Regions from separate parts of the Homo sapiens genome. Here region 1 is linked to region 2. Evidence: promoter capture Hi-C in 16 types of primary human blood cells and fetal thymus (Javierre and others, 2016). All regions are on one chromosome and are shown on one strand. The core of a region is centred on a gene start or on the middle of the fragment in contact, and the rest is flanking DNA. Distances in the headings are between cores, read along the strand shown. Region 1 has its middle 77 kb from the start of ZNF33B. Region 2 holds the start of BMS1 (BMS1 ribosome biogenesis factor).

Region 1 (3,524 bases), core at 398-2,897, 220 kb before region 2:
TTTTTTTACTTCTGACTCTGTCACCCAGGCTGGAGTGCAGTGGCACAATCATAGCTCACTGCAGCCTTGAGCTCCTGGGCACAAGTGATCCTCCTGCCTCAGCTGGGACTACAGGTATGTATCCTCCTGAATAGCTGGGACTACAAGCACGTGCCACCATCCCGGGCTCTTTTTTTTTTTTTCTGTAAAGATGGGGTCCTGCTATGTTGCCCAGGTTTATCTTGAGCTCCTGGCCTTAAGTGATCCTCCTGCCTCAGCCTCTCTAAGTGCTGAGATTACAGGTGTGAGTCATTGCACCTGGCCCAGAAGTGGAATTTGCTAGAACAGTCCTGATTCACTAAGATTTGGCTCCATCACTGTTTGGGAAAAGGAAGAATGAAGGGGAATGGTGATAAGCCTTGGTGTCTATCGAGCCCTCCATGGTTTGAGAGCAGCAGCTGAACTGCCATCTGCTGTTAGAAGCCACAGTGACCTTTGGGGTTAGAAATGGATCCAACCCTGGCTTCTTTGAGCTGTGCTGGATGAAGTGAGGGGGAAAGTATACATCTGGGGATTGGCTTTGTTTTTTATTCTCTTCTCCAGGTGGGAGGGTAAAAAAACAACAGTGACAAATTATAAAGGTGAGTGTTAGGTGGCCCCAAAAATGTTAGAAGTTCTCAGGGCTGGAGCAAAGCTGGGGTGGGAGGGTGGGAGGGTGGGAGGGTGGGGAGGGCACCAAGACTCCATCCAGCCTCTTCTTCAGCCCAGCTGCTGCCCTGTTGCAAGAGCTGCCTCCTTCTTTACCACCCCCTGTACCCTCCCCCATCTGCTTTCCAACCTGAATCTTTCCCACAGCAGTAATGCTAACCTAACTGCAAATGCTGGATTTACTGCTATGGATTTAGTTTGCAACAGAAAAAAAAATTTAATGGCTTTGTGTTTTGTGGCTATTACATCTAGATGTATTAATATGATAAAATTGATATAAAATGTTAAATGCTTTCAATTTCATAAATTCTAGAGGGAACACACTTATCAGGAAAAGCTGCAGCGGAAAGTGAAGGTGATACAACTTCCTTGCTTTTTGCAGCTAGTGGGCAGCTTGGAATTTAAATTCTCAATACTGGAAACAGAACAAGTCCCCAAAATTAACAATTTTTGCTACAGTTTTTGTCTATTGGAGCCACTGGAAAAAAGGAGACAATATGAAGAGAGGCAATCTTGAGCTAGAGATACGCTTTGGAATTTACAAGGCAGTTTTTCATCTCTAATGAGCTCTTGTAAGATCATATAGCTGACCCTCAGAGGCTGATGATTTTCTGGCCCCATGTGTATAGTTTTGAGTTGCTCAGCTTGGACTCTAAGGTGAATAATGTAAAAAGAGCCCAACAAAGCCTTGCTTGTCACTTGGCTAAGAACACAGCTGTCTGGCCCTGCAGCATCTCAGTCTCCAGTTACTGGAAGAACATATATTAGATGTTGGGGAAACTATAAGGCTACAGGATGATGCTGCATGTTGGCAGGGAGAATTGTTCAAGGTAGAAACTGTGGGGAACAAAGAAAGAGATTCTCATCTGTGTACCTGCTGCTACATGCTAATTTGGGAGTAAGAAAACTGTTAAGGAATAAAAAAGCCAAGAACTCTGTCTTCACAGGGCTTTCAGGCTAGAAGGGAAACTGGCCACCATACAAATTGTATACAACTCCATTAGTACTTAAGAGGTCTGATTTATTGCTTTGAAACACAAGTGCAGGAAGTTTAAGGTTTATCAGCAGCCTTTCCCTTTGCAGAAATTGTAAACTAAAAATGAAATCCTAAGCCCCCACCAACTGAAGGACACTCCCCTTAGCCAAGGGGACCCCAGAAAAATCTTACAATTGAGTTCCTGGCCATGATGGGATGGGAGGTCAGACATGTCTCATTATACCCCCTCATGTTTGTGGTTTAGACACAGCGACTGACCAGCATTAATGTTAAAATAGAGATCATAAGACTGGCAGAACAGACTTTTTGTGGCAATGAGATATCAATTATAAACAAGACCTAAGGCCATGCCAGGCAAGGGTTAGGTCAAGCACTCTAAACTTAAAGATTAACTATGGTCTAACTGCCACAAGGTTTTTCTTTTTTCTCTAGCAGCTAAATAAACACTGGCCTTGACATAAGCAAAATAAAAACAATTGTAGCTCATCACCAGACACTAATTGGCTCCCAACTCCTGTCCCAAGCACCATAACTACAGCTTTGATTAGACAAGAGACTGATTTCAGTAACTTTCTCCTGATAAGAAGACCACCCACCATGAACTGGTTCTGGCTGGTTTTACAGAGATTGCACACTTGAGTGCCTTCGTGTCCTGTAAAGACCTTTTGACTGATAGGGCCTAATTATAATACATTCAAGTGTTAGGACTCCACCCCAAAGTGAACATGGGTCATGTATTACATGCATGTTGGTTCAATACATGTGCCTCAGGACCACCTTCATGCATATTCATAGCTCCTCCTATAACCTGTTGAAGATGTATGTTTAGCTAACTTGTCCAGCATAATGCTCCTACCCCAACCTATATTCCTTCAAAGTGCCTGTCCCTAGTCCCTGGTCTTAGCCAGAGGCATTCTTCTCAGCCTGTTGCAGGCTGTAACCCCTTATAAGAAATAAAGCCTCCTCTCCATTCCAAATAGTTAAATCTTGTGAATTGTTTTTGTTTTGTTTTGTTTTGTTTTGTTTTGTTTTGTTTTGTTTTGAGATGGAGTTTCACTCTTGTCACCCAGGCTGGAATGCAATGGCACGATCTTGTGTCACTGCAACTTCTGCCTCCCAGGTTCAAGCGATTCTCTTGCCTCAGTCTCCTGAGTAGCTGGGAATACAAGCACCTGCCACCATGCCTGGCTAATTTTTGTATTTTTAGTAGAGGTGGGGTTTCATCATGTTGGCCAGGCTGGTCTCAAAATCCTGACTTCAGGTGATCCACCTGTCTCTGCCTCCCAAAGTGCTGGGATTACAGCTGTGAGCCACCGCACCTGGCCTAAATCTTGTGATTTTTAAATTCAACAGAGTCAATTAAATGGTTCCTTGATAGAGAAACATTTAAGGCAGACATTAGCTTTTATTGCCCCATAACGCTTCAGTAAGTTTCCCTGAATATTTGCATTTACTTGTCAATCAACTCACAGGGACTGAGGCAGAAGTAAAACCCACAATTACCTTACCCCTGGCCTGTGTGACAAAGTAACAAATCTTTTATCACATATTTGAGAGGCATCTCAGCTACCAAGAACTTTTTTTTTAACCTTTTATTTTAGGTTCAGGGGGATATGTGCAGGTTTGTTATGTAGGTAAACTCGTATCACAGGGGTTTGTTGTACAGATTATTTCATCACCCAGGTACTAGGCCTAGTACCCAATAATTATTTTTTCTGGTCCTCTCCCTCCTCCTACTCCACCCTCATGTAGGCCCAGTGTCTGCTGTTCCCCTTTGTGTCCATGGGTTCTCATTATTTAGCTCCCACTTATAAGTGAGACTGGGCGATTGCTGACCTGC
Region 2 (3,423 bases), core at 113-2,612:
GAAGGATTATCTACCTGGATACTGAAATCTTCAAGAAGTAAGAGGTGTAGTGTGAAGAAGTTACAACACTCTAAGCTCTTCAGGGATAAGGGAAGCATGTGCCACGTGGGTAGCCTCCCAAGTCCAGCACCCAGTATCTAGAATATGCAGAGTGAATACCTGGGGGCTGCTGAGGGCAAGAACAAGGTGCCTGTGAGAAGACCTGACGCCTGGGGTTCTCGTGACAGGAGTGGGCCTAGTTTTTGGTGTAGAATTGAGCCTTGAATGCACCAGCGGGATCATATTGAAAAGAAACCCTCCAAGACTAAAGGAAGATGCATCCTCTGACAATGTACGCTCTGTAGGCTCCCAAGTAGCTGGGCTGGGGATTAGATGGACTCCAAGGCATTTCCTCAGGTGGCAATGGGCGGATCCCTGGGAAGGTAAAGCTGTGCAGTAAGAAAACGGCAAGATGCTACGTTCACTCAGGTAAAGCCCCTTTCCCGGGTTTAGGGAGGGCGAGGCAGTTTAGGCTGGGTCAGTTTGTCCCTGCCCTCACGGTTTGTTGGTCCTGGCAAAAGAGGGCCTTATGTTATTTATTTTTCTTAGAGACAGTGTCTTGCTCTGTTGCCCAGGCTGAAGTCCAGTGGCTCATCTCAGTTCACTGCAGACTCCGCCTCCTGGGATCAAGCGATCCTCCCACCTCAGCCTCCAGAGTAGCTGGGACCACAAGCACCACAGGCGCCCGGCACGATGCCGGCTAATTTTTTTTTTTTTTTTTTTTAAGAGAGAGAGGTAGGCTCCCTATGTTGCCCAGGCTTGTCTTGAATTCCTGGGCTCAAGCAATCCTCCCTCCTCGGCTTCCCAAAGTGTAGGGATTACAGGCGTGAGCCACTGCGCCCTGCCAAAAGAGGGCTTTAGGGCACCCCAGAACGCGAGATCCCCCTCATCTGTAATCTTTAAAGAGGAGGAAGTGTACTCCAAATCAAGCGATAGTCCATTCGTCCTTGGCACGGTGACTGCCGGGAGGCCAGGACCAAATGTGTCTCCTTCCGGCTTTTGCACCACACTAACTAACCGGCGCCAGGCCGCAGAGCCGCCCTGGCCTTCGGCGAGAACTCAGGCGAGCGCGGCGCACGCTGCTCCGGAGTCCCACCGCGGAAGTTGAGGCCGCGGATTCCGAGGGCGGGGTGGAGAGGAATCTGGAAGGACCTGGACCCGGTGGAACGCACTGCGCGGACGGCGCCTGCGTCCGCACTCAGCTGTTCAGCCCTCTTTCTTCAGGCTCTCCCCTGAAAGCCGTCCCCATGCCGGTCTCTTTTTTCTGCCTTCTTGTTTCCCTCCGGCGAGTCAGCGCGACTGTGAATTTCCGTTTCCGGCGGTGTCCATGCTGACCTGAGGAGTCGCGGCTGCGAGCAGGTTCGGTGCTGCGGGTTGGGGTAGGCGGCGGTGGGGTCCCTGGTTCTGGGGCACTGGGAAGATCGCGAGTCGTGCGTGTGGGAAGGTCCTCCCCCGGTCCTCCGGGTCATCTTTGCTCCCGAGGAGCGGCATATTTCTCATCTGGCGGAGGTGTCCTGGGGTAGTTGGGTGAGTGACGTGATGAATCCCTGCAGAGAGCCCAGACGGGGAGGGAAGGTGGCTGGGCGACGTCGTTTCCTGGCGACGTGGTCCCGGTAGGAGACTTAGACCTGAGCTGGATCTGTTGACCCCAAATTGTGCTTTTCCCACCAAGAAGAAAGACAGGGAGAGAAACATTAGTACAAGTGCTGAACTAAAATATAGCAGAGAAGAAACATAATCTCTGAAATCACACAGCTATTCGGTTTCAAAGCGTTCCTAGCGCCCAGCTCTCCTAACTCCTGGCCAGTGTTCTTGACATTATGGTAATACATAAAGACTTTGTTTCCGCTGGTGTGTGTCTGTGGGAAGCCTCTGACTCACCTCCGTGCTCCAGTAGCACCCTGTGCAGCCTTCCAATGTCGCCCTTATTGCGTGGCGCGGAAGATAATAGTTTGGATTTCCTCTGCAAGTCAGATAATAGCTGTATCCACTTACTGGCACAGTGCCTAGCACATCGTAGACAGACACAAATATTTATTCAACGGAATGAATACAGTACCTTAATTGAATGAAATGGCATCCTGCTCCGCTTTTTTTTTTTAATCAAGCTGTCAGATTTTATGCAGCCCGATTTCCTAAAATAACTCACTAATTCAGTGATTGCCAATTTATTAGCCACAGATTCCCAGGTAACTCAGAAATCACTGGAAGGGTCTCTGTAAGTTCATGGGGTCTCCAGGTGTCATCTAGAACCAGTCCTATCTCACACGTACAGCTATTTCTATTTTTCAAATGTATGTAGATAAGTTGTAATTTAGGAGTTTTACAGAGTCAACAGGTACTAAAAGTAATACTGCGATCATATTGGAGGTTCATAAAAACGTTTCACATTTTTTTATTAAAATTTAAGTTTTAGTTTAAGTTAGGAAACCACTTCATCAGTCCAGTTGATACCTGGGTCTGAGCTGTCCAGTATGGTAGCCACATGTGACTATTTGGAGTTAGAATGAAATTAATTAAAAACTCATTTTTTCAGTTTCCCTAAGTATATTGTAAGTAACCACATGTGGCTAATGGCTAAATGGCTGAAAAGTACAGATATAGTATATTTCTATCCTTGCAGAAATAGATACTGCTGATGTTGACACTTAAGATGAATAAAAAGTAACTTAACCATAAAATGTAATCTTAAGAGAGGTAACTCATCTAATTTATAGCATAACAGAGAGAAATGAAATTGGGGATGGTTAAGCAGTTTCTACCCTTGTTCAGTGAACAAATACATCATCTCTTCATAAAGAAATAAATGAAATTTACTGTTTTTCCCTGGGTATTGCCTGGATTGTAAAATGCTTCTCCCATCTCCTTACCCCAACCTTCTTCCTTGTAGGTTAGAGTTACTTGTTATTGGTAAATAGCCACTATGGAGGCTAAGGACCAGAAGAAACACAGAAAGAAAAACAGTGGACCCAAAGCTGCAAAGAAAAAGAAGCGGCTTCTGCAGGATCTCCAGCTAGGAGACGAAGAAGATGCCCGGAAGAGAAATCCCAAAGCTTTTGCAGTTCAGTCTGCTGTGCGGATGGCTCGATCCTTTCACAGGTATGTTAGGCTACGGTCTGGTCATTCTTCCATTGATTCTTTTTTTAAATAGTAGGAGCCTCTCACAGGTGACATTTGGATTCACGAGTCTAGTCCAGCTCCAAAGGACATGGAGATTCATGGTGTGTGGCTTTCACTAAAACGTGAGAAGCTTTTCCCATAGAAGCTGCCTTGCCTCCAGCATCTGCATACTGGTTAGTGTTTATTGCCCAGGATACAAGAATTTATAGACTTTGTTTGTTCCTAAATTTTAAACTGTTTCTATGGTGATAAGTGTGCTTTTTC

Evidence for each region. The method cuts DNA at HindIII sites, captures the fragments that hold promoters and counts their contacts. A CHiCAGO score of 5 or more calls a contact.
Region 1: a fragment that was not itself captured here is called in contact with the fragment with the promoter of BMS1 in region 2 in 2 of 17 cell types (total B cells and total CD4 T cells); the score reaches 5.7 in total B cells.

The regions. Positions count from the first base shown.
Region 1 is chr10:42,559,622-42,563,145 of GRCh38, forward strand. No RefSeq gene overlaps it. Among named protein-coding and RNA genes, the nearest start is that of ZNF33B, 77 kb to the right of the region's middle. The HindIII fragment of the contact is 5,567 bases long and covers 1-3,524 here.
Region 2 is chr10:42,781,433-42,784,855 of GRCh38, forward strand. It overlaps BMS1 (BMS1 ribosome biogenesis factor), which reads left to right and starts at 1,363. Exons shown (of 23, transcript NM_014753.4): 1 at 1,363-1,398; 2 at 2,930-3,138. The coding sequence starts at 2,963. RefSeq lists an enhancer at 1,194-1,543. The HindIII fragment of the contact is 6,696 bases long and covers 1-3,090 here.